2 separate regions of the Homo sapiens genome follow, and region 1 is linked to region 2. The links are contacts of gene promoters, found by promoter capture Hi-C in human tissues and cell types (Jung and others, 2019). All regions are on one chromosome and are shown on one strand. The core of a region is centred on a gene start or on the middle of the fragment in contact, and the rest is flanking DNA. Distances in the headings are between cores, read along the strand shown. Region 1 has its middle 85 kb from the start of LINC03103. Region 2 holds the start of RHPN2 (rhophilin Rho GTPase binding protein 2).

Evidence for each region. Contacts are between HindIII fragments. The study calls those that stand out against the background at their distance.
Region 1: a fragment that was not itself captured here is called in contact with the fragment with the promoter of RHPN2 in region 2 in 1 of the 25 tissues and cell types used here (psoas muscle).

What each region holds. Positions count from the first base shown.
Region 1 is chr19:31,671,494-31,675,623 of GRCh38, forward strand. No RefSeq gene overlaps it. Among named protein-coding and RNA genes, the nearest start is that of LINC03103, 85 kb to the left of the region's middle. The HindIII fragment of the contact is 4,885 bases long and covers 409-4,130 here.
Region 2 is chr19:33,062,083-33,066,166 of GRCh38, forward strand. RHPN2 (rhophilin Rho GTPase binding protein 2) reads right to left here and starts at 2,806. Exons shown (of 15, transcript NM_033103.5): 1 at 2,702-2,806. The coding sequence starts at 2,770. RefSeq lists enhancers at 1,500-2,128, 3,341-3,840 and silencers at 2,414-2,633, 2,694-3,193. The HindIII fragment of the contact is 19,604 bases long and covers 1-4,084 here.

The sequences.
Region 1 (4,130 bases), core at 1,601-4,100, 1.4 Mb before region 2:
TCTACATGTTATCATAGTCCCTTCCCCGAGGCTGGGAAAGGAGGATTTTATTCTCCAGGCAACGTCCACTGGCAACGCTGCCCAGGCAGCTGGTCCCTAGCCCCACTGGAGGCATTCCAACCACTTAACACAGTTTTTCAATTTCCACTGTTTTTGCACATACATTTCCATCCCTGGGATGGATTGCCACGGGGCTTTCCTCTCCAAAATTCTGATGGATGGCATTTTTACCCTGCAATGATCCCTAAGTTAAAGTGATATTCACCAATATTTATTACGTGGTAATGGCATGGAGCACCAGATCAAAAATTCATGGCAAGCACACACTGCAACACTCTCCCTGAATGCTCTCAGAGCAGATATATGATTCTATGGATATGCACATCTGTATGTAAGTAGTGTACGCATGCGTGTGCACTCATATACACACACACACAGCCTGGGCCACATCTTGTCTTTCAACTCCGGTGGCACTACAGTAACAAACCGGTCTAGAAGCAGGCCTGAGAGACAGGATTTCTCAACCAAGAGATGGGCAGATGTGAGTTTAAAGGAAGAGCCAGTAGCAGGAGGTTCAGTTTCTCCCACTCTACCACCAGCTGGGAGTTAATTCATCAGTTCTGGGACTCATTCAAACAGCATGGCATGACACTGGTGGAAAGCAAACACATCCTCTGAATGCCTGCTGTATTCTGCAGAGGAGAGCAGGGAGCTGAGCCTGGTATCCGGAGCTCAAGGCCTGATAGCCCGGACTCACATGAAGGCCAGAGGATGAGCTCCCAGAACTCCACGAGTCTTGGCCTAATGTCTTTTAGCCAAGAGCATTTGGTGAAACAAAAAAGACCCTTTGAGGCCAAGCGTGGTGGCTCATGTCTGTAATCCCAGCACTTTGGGGGGGCCAAGGCAGGGGATCGCTCGAGGCAGGGAGTTCAAAACCAGCCTGGGAAACATGGCAAGATCCTGTCTCTACCAATAATTTAAAAATTAGCCTGGTGTGGTGGCATGTGCCTGTGGTTCCAGCTACTCAGGCAACTGGGATGGGAAGATAAGATCACTTAAGCCCAAGCATTCAAGCCTGCAATGAGCTATGATTTTGCCACTGCACTCCAGCCTGGGCGATAAAGAAAGGCCCTGTCTCTAAATAAGAATAATAAGACCCTTCACAAGCCTCAACAAAGATAGATCCAAGATCCTGGCTCCTCACTCCACAGGTAGCCAGAGAAGACCCTGCCATCTCCTGAGCCTACCCTAACCTCTCCCACTAGGTTTGATCCTCTCTCCTTTGTGTCCTGACCCACATGACTGCCTGCACCCATCCCCACCTTGGTAACATTCCCCAGGAAATCATTTTAGTGCCTCTTTCCTGCCCTTATGCCTCTAATCTATTTTGATTTTCTGTTACTGTGCCTAGGAATGCCAATGCATTGTTGAACAGAAGGGGCTAGGCATCAGGGACAGCATCCCACCTCTCTGGCCATCTTTTAGCCATTAAAATTTGCCATCACCTATTGTTGACCTGCCGCCGAGCTCCATGGAAAGAACACAAGATACGTATTGCAATGGTGTGAAAACATTTGGCTCCAATTTTTTCTATATATATATAAATTTTTTTCTCCCTTTTCTTCCTCCTTTTGACCCACAGAAAAGAGAACCCTAAGTCCCCACACTCTGTCACTTCATAAATCTCTCTCTAATTGCACCCTTGGGGTCTCTCTTGGCCAGTCTTTCAGAAGAAGGGCTACCTGGCCTTCCAAGGATTGGTTTATCACCTTAGTTGCTTTTTGCCAGGTTTTCTCCATCACAAGAGTCTTTTCTTTAATGACCTGAGCTATTTACAATAAGGAAATAACGTGGTCATAATCAGAGCTGGGGTGATTTTGCTTTATACAAGCCTCTCTCTCTCTCTCTCTCTCTCTCTCTCTCTCTATATATATATATATATATATATATACACACACATATACACACACACACACACACATATGTATATACACACACATATATGTATATATGTATATATGTGTGTATATATGCATATATATGTATATATGGTGTGTGTATATATGTATGTTGTGTGTGTGTGTGTGTGTATGTATAAAAGGCATCTATCTGCCCTTCTCCACCTCCTGAAATATTCCTCAACTGAGATTTCCATCAAACCCACCAATGACCTAGGAGTATCTAGGTGGGTCTCCTTGCACTGTTGACCATGGTGAGTTCACTTGGAAAGCCCTGCTCTAGGGACAATGTGCATCCTATTCTGTGCCCCCAGCATGCATATGCCCAAATCCCCCAAGAATAGAAGAAAGACAATGCATTGCTATTTCCGTCTCCAAAATTACCGTGGATGGCATTGATAAGTCTGAAGGAGGGAGAAAAGGAAGAATAGAAGGATAGGGCGTTAGCGAGAGGGCAAGGAGAACAAAGGAAGGCATTGTTGGACAATAAGCAGCAGGTGAACAGGAACACTTTGTCCAGAGGGCCTCCACAGTGGGGAGGGAGCAGGTAGGAAGACAGCGGTACTTAGAATCTTAGCCAGAGTTCAAATTATAGGGCACTGTTTCATTCCCCAAATCAGGTATTTAGAAACACAGATAGAGGGAATCCCTTTCCAGGCTTCCATTGTCTCCCATAAAAGCATGCTGGATGGGCATAGAGAGAAAAAATGAAGCAGAAACTCACAAAATTAGACTCAACATGAATTTGATGGGGTGTAGAAACGTCCTGCAATCAGAGGAGACATGCTCCCACCTTTAAACATGAGAGGGCTGGGCTGGCGTTGCTGCCTCAAATATAGGATGAACTTGAACTTCAGATAAGCAATGAACAATTTTTTATAAGTATAAAGTATGTCCAAATATTTCATGGGGCACACATATAACAAAAAGTATTGGTTGTTTATCTAAAATTCCATTTTAATCTGGCTTTTTTTTTTCCTTTTGCTAAATCTTGCCAGATTTAGATCAGGCAAAATTTCCAAAGCTTCTTTCAGTTTTTCCATTCTCTGTTGTGTGTCCCCACCCCAAGGGGAGAGCCACTGGGGCCTCAGAAGAGGCAGGGGACACAAGAAGATAAGAAGAGTTCTAGGATCAGGGCAGCAAATTACGGCTGAGGCTACACGCATAGGGAAGGGGTTGTTGAAACAGGCAAAACCAAGTGTGCCAAGATTTGCTTTAAAAAGAAAAAAAAAAAAACCACAATGGCTCACACAATGGCTCATCAGCAGTGCGGCTGACCCAGTGAGTCCAGACACCACAACCTACGGCAAAATCTGAACTGTGGAACTGTCACGGAGCAACTGGGAAAACATGAATTCATAGTTAAACCGATAAAATTCTGTGTAATCTGTCTTTGTAACCCCAGAAACTGAAACTTATGCTTAAAAAAAGACTAATATTCTTTTTTTTTTTTTTTGTCTAAACCACTAATTATTTTACCTGGAGGAAATTCCTCTATTATTTTCACTGCTGGAAAATCACAGGGTGGTTAGTACTGCTAGTACCTGTCACAGACAGACGTAAACAATGCGATCCAATAAAACCTTATATAGCACATTGCACACAATAGTGGCTTGCCAGACTCACCCAGTAAAACAAAACATCAAAGCAGAAAAAATTAACCAAAAATAGCTTGCACGGGGAAACGTGGTAAGCGAGTTTGAAGACTGAATTCCTAATATCCCTGGACAACAGACTTCACTGATACGAGATAGTGGAAGGAAAGGGTCCCGGGGAGGGGCTGACAATGAGCTGTCAAGATCTGACCGCAACTCGCTTCTCCTCTGCACCTGGGTTCATAGCATAGTCAGGCCACTAATAGTCCTGCATGTCGGTTAGCACTTACAGTTTGCAAATTGTTTTTACATGCACTGGCTCATTGGGTCTTCCCCCAATGCTGTACAATCAGATAAAATCCTGCCATTCTCCAGGAACTGACTCAACCAAAAATGCTCACCACAAAAATGCTCAGCCTAGTTGGGGAGGTACCCATTTATCAAATTGCCGTACTAATGAAAATCCAATTATAGACAGAGATAAATTAAAGGACTTGGATCTGACTTTGCGCAGGGTGATAGGGGAGGCTCCCTGGAAAAGGTGATGTTAGACCTGAGCTCAAAGGCAAATAGGATG
Region 2 (4,084 bases), core at 1,556-4,055:
GTAGCACAACAATTGTTACAAGGTCTCATTTTCAAAATTGATGATTTTAATTGTAAAACAATGATTCCTCTTATTTTGCACCCCTGATTCTCTCATCCAACACCAGAGAAACTGCATCTAAAAAACACCCCACTTTAGGAGGCCGAGGTGGGTGGATCACCTGAGGTCAGGAGTTCAAGACCAGCCTGGCCAACATGGCAAAACCTTGCCTCTACTAAAAATACAAAAGTTAGCCAGGCGTGGTTGATATGCGCCTGTAGTCTCAGCTACTGGGAAGGCTGAGGCGGGAGAATCACTTGAAACTGGTAGATGGAGGTTGCAGTGAGCCGAGATCGCGCCACTGCACTCCAGCCTGGGTGACAGAGCGAGACTCCATCTCAGGGGGAAAAAAAAAAAAACACCTGTAGCCGGGCGCAGTGGCTTACACCTGTAATCCCAGCACTTTGGAAGGCCATGGCAGGTGGATCACTTAAGGTCAGGAGTTCAAGACTAGCCTGGGCAACACGGTGAAACCCCGTTTCTACTAAAAATACAAAAAATTAGCCAGGTGTGGTGGCAGGCGCCTGTAATCCCAGCTACTTCGGAGGCTGAGGCAGAACTGCTTGAACCCCGGAGGCAGAGGTTGCAGTGAGCCGAAATCACACCACTGCACTCCAGCCTGAGCGACAGAGTGAGACTCTGTTTCATAATAATAATAATAATAATAATAATAATAATAATAATTAATAAATGAAAAACACCCAACTGTGCACCTTTCCTAGCTCTCTTGCCATCCACTCTTTCCCAGTGCGGAGCAAGAAGTCCTCCCCTGGGCTCACAGACACGGAGGGCTCCCACAGGAAAATGTGTTCTGGGAGGCTTGGGACCACCCCTCACAGGTGTGCTTCTCTTGCTGCCATTTTCCCCCAGGTGCTGCTGGAGTTCCAGAGCTACACCTGCTCAGAGAACAATCTGGGGAGGAAATGTCCCAGAAAGAGGCAGCAACTTGCGGGAGGCCACACAGCAATTTTGTGGGAGTGGCAGTCAGGCCCCGGGGCCCGAGGACAGACATAGGAATTCCCAGGCCAGGCCTCCTCCTGCAATTCCATGGCCTGTGATCCTCTGTCCCAAACGCCACACATAATTAGAAGTTATAATCCTGTAATTCCATGATGACATCTTTAAACTTAAATATACCTCAAAACTACTTTTTTTTTTTTTAATGCTAAAAGCAACTTCACAAAAAAGAAGTTTTCCCACTCTGCCCCACACTGTCCTGCCCAGGGCTCCTCACCAGTGAGCAAAGCCCACAGTCTCTCTGTGTCACCTGGGAGAAGGAGGAAGATGCCAAGACCATTTAAGAACTGGATCCTAAGGCTTTGAACAATTAAGAATTGATTCGTTTATGGGAAAGTTTCACTTCCCTATTTATAATTATGCACTGTCGTATCTATTATAAAAACGAAAATCAACAACAATCTCTCCACCCTCTCAGTGATCCCTGGCCAAGGGCCAAAAGCTATTTTTAGACTTGCTCAGGACCTAGAGGGAGGAAGGCTTGGAAGGCATCACCATGACTCCCGGCTCCAAAGCATCTTTGTAGCCCAGGCCCTGCCGCCTGCGGGTATCCCAGGGCCCCTGCTCCACAGGCTGGGGTCGCTTTTGAGGGACTGAGCTCCCTGACTGTTATCTTCTGGGCCCAAGAGCTCCTGGACATGCCAAGAACCTGCGAGGCCGGCACCCGCCACCCGCCGCCCGCCGCCCGCCGCCCGCCGCCAGCCCCCGCCAAGTCTCCCGGACAACAAGACAAATCCGCTTTGGCACACAGTGAGACGCACAAGACCGTGGGCCTCACCTGCGGTGCTCACGCCCTCCTGGACGACCCGGAGCGGAGGAGGGTGCAACGCCGGAGGCTCCCTCCCACCAGCAGCTCTCCCCTGCTCCCTGAAAAGTCCCACAGGCGGACTTTGGAAGCATTTTGGAGGCAAAAAGAGACCGCCGGCCGGGCGCAGTGGCTCACGCCTGTAATCCCAGCACTTTGAGAGACCGGGGCGGGAGGATCCCTTGAGCCCAAGAGTTCGCGACCAGTCTGGGCAACACAGCGATACCCCAGTTCTACAAAAAATTAGCGTGGCGAGGTGGCGCGCCTGCAGTCCCAGTTACTCGGGAGGCTGGGGCGGGAGGATCGCTGGAGGCCAGGAAGTCGAGGCTGCAGTGAGCTATAATCGCGCCACTCTACTCCAGCCTGGGCGACAGAGCGCCTAAAATAAATATGAGACCGCCAACACGCCTGGGATGGTCTGTCTCCACCCGCGCTCCCACCAAGCGCTCTTGCAACGCGCCCAGAGGCCAAGGGCGCCAGCGCAGCCAGGAACGGGTCCTTTCCCCAGGCACCAGGGATCGCAAGCGAGGGGTGGCGGGGGGTGGGAGGGGGGAGACCCAAGCACCCCTCCAGGTCCTCCGCCCGCACCTGCGCGGAGCGGCCACATGCGCCTCCCCTACTCCCCGCCCAGTCCCGGATGCCACCTGCCCGGGACGCCGGGGACATCGCCGCCCCCACTCCTCCCCGCCAGCCTCCGTCCGGCCAGCGCCGGCCCAGTGCGCCCCCTCCCCCTCCCGGCCTAGTGGACCCCGACTGCGCGCTCCCACGGCCCCTGCAGGGCCCGGGGGAAAGGAGGTCTGGAGCCCGCAGGTCCCCGCCCGCCCGCCCGAAGCCGCCCACCTTCCGAAAGTAGCCGTCGTTCTCCTTCTCCAGCGGCTGGGGGGCCGCGGGCAACAGCGCGTCGGTCATGCTAGCGGCGCGGGCGCGGAGGGCGGACGGCGGACTGAGGCGCGGCGGCTGAGGCTGGCCCGAGAGGACGTGCGGCCCCGCCCCTGTCCCCGCCCTTCCCCGCCCCTCCACTCCCACCCCGTCCCGCGGCCCTTCTAGCCCCGCCTGAGGCCGAGCACTGGAGCCCTGGAGACGCGCCCCGCCCCGTCGCGGGCCCCGAACCCGCGCCCCTTGAGGCGCTCGTCACCCGGAGAGCTGCGCCCTGGGCGCGGCGCCTCGGGGTTGTCTGTGGGCGTCGTGGCTGACTCAACTTTGCGAGTGCCGCGAGAGCGCAGGAAAGGCACTGGGGTCTCAGGGGCCGCAGCGAAGCCCTGGCTGTGGACCTGCACCCTGCCCTGGAGCCCGGGGAGTCAGTGAGGAAGGCGTGGATCCAGGCGCGTCCCTCCTGGGTGAAGCCCGTGCGCCGCGGGGGAAGGGGCCAGACTCGACGCCACGTCGAGGGCGCGGCGGGAGCTCTGGGCCCTGGGCCCGGCGGTTTGGAAAAGCTTTTCCCAAGAGGGGAGCCCATGGCGGAGGGAGCGTTGACTGCCCCGCCGAGCGCCTTGCCCGGACTACTCGGGCTTGTTGGCATGGGATCAACTCAGCCGATTCCCTGTCCGCGCTGCAAAGACGAGTGGGATCCGCTGGGCTCGCGGACTGCCCTGAGAGAGGGGACCAGGAGGGGTTTTGCGCCCCAGACACGGCAGATGTCCTTGAGCACAGTTCTTTTTTTTAAGAGATGGGACCTCGCTCTGTCGCCCAGGCTGGAGAGCAGTGTTGCGATCTCGACTCTTTGCAGCCTCGACCTCCCAGGATCAAGCGATGCTCCAGCCTCAGCCTCCCAAGTAGCAGGGGCTGCAGGCGCGGGCCAACGCGCCCGGCCTTTTTATTTATTTTTTTTATTTTTTTATTTGAGACGGAGTCTCGCCCTGTCGCCCAGGCTGGAGTGCAATGGCGCGATCTCGGCTCACTGCAACTTCCGCCTCCCGGGTTCAAGCGATTCTCCTGCCTCAGCCTCCCGAGTAGCTGAGACTACAGGCGTCCACCACCACACCCAGCTAATCTTCAGTAGAGACAGTTTCACCTTGTTGGCTAGGCTTGTCTTGAACTCCTGACCTTGTGATCTGCCCACCTCGGCCTGCCTCCCAAAGTGCTGGGATTACAGCTTTTGTTTTGTTTTGTTTTGTTTTGTTTTTAAATAGATGCGGGGTCTCACCATGATATCAAGGCTGGCCTCGAACTCCCGACCTTAAGTGATCCTCACTCGTCTCGCTCTGTCGCCCAGGCTGAAGTGCA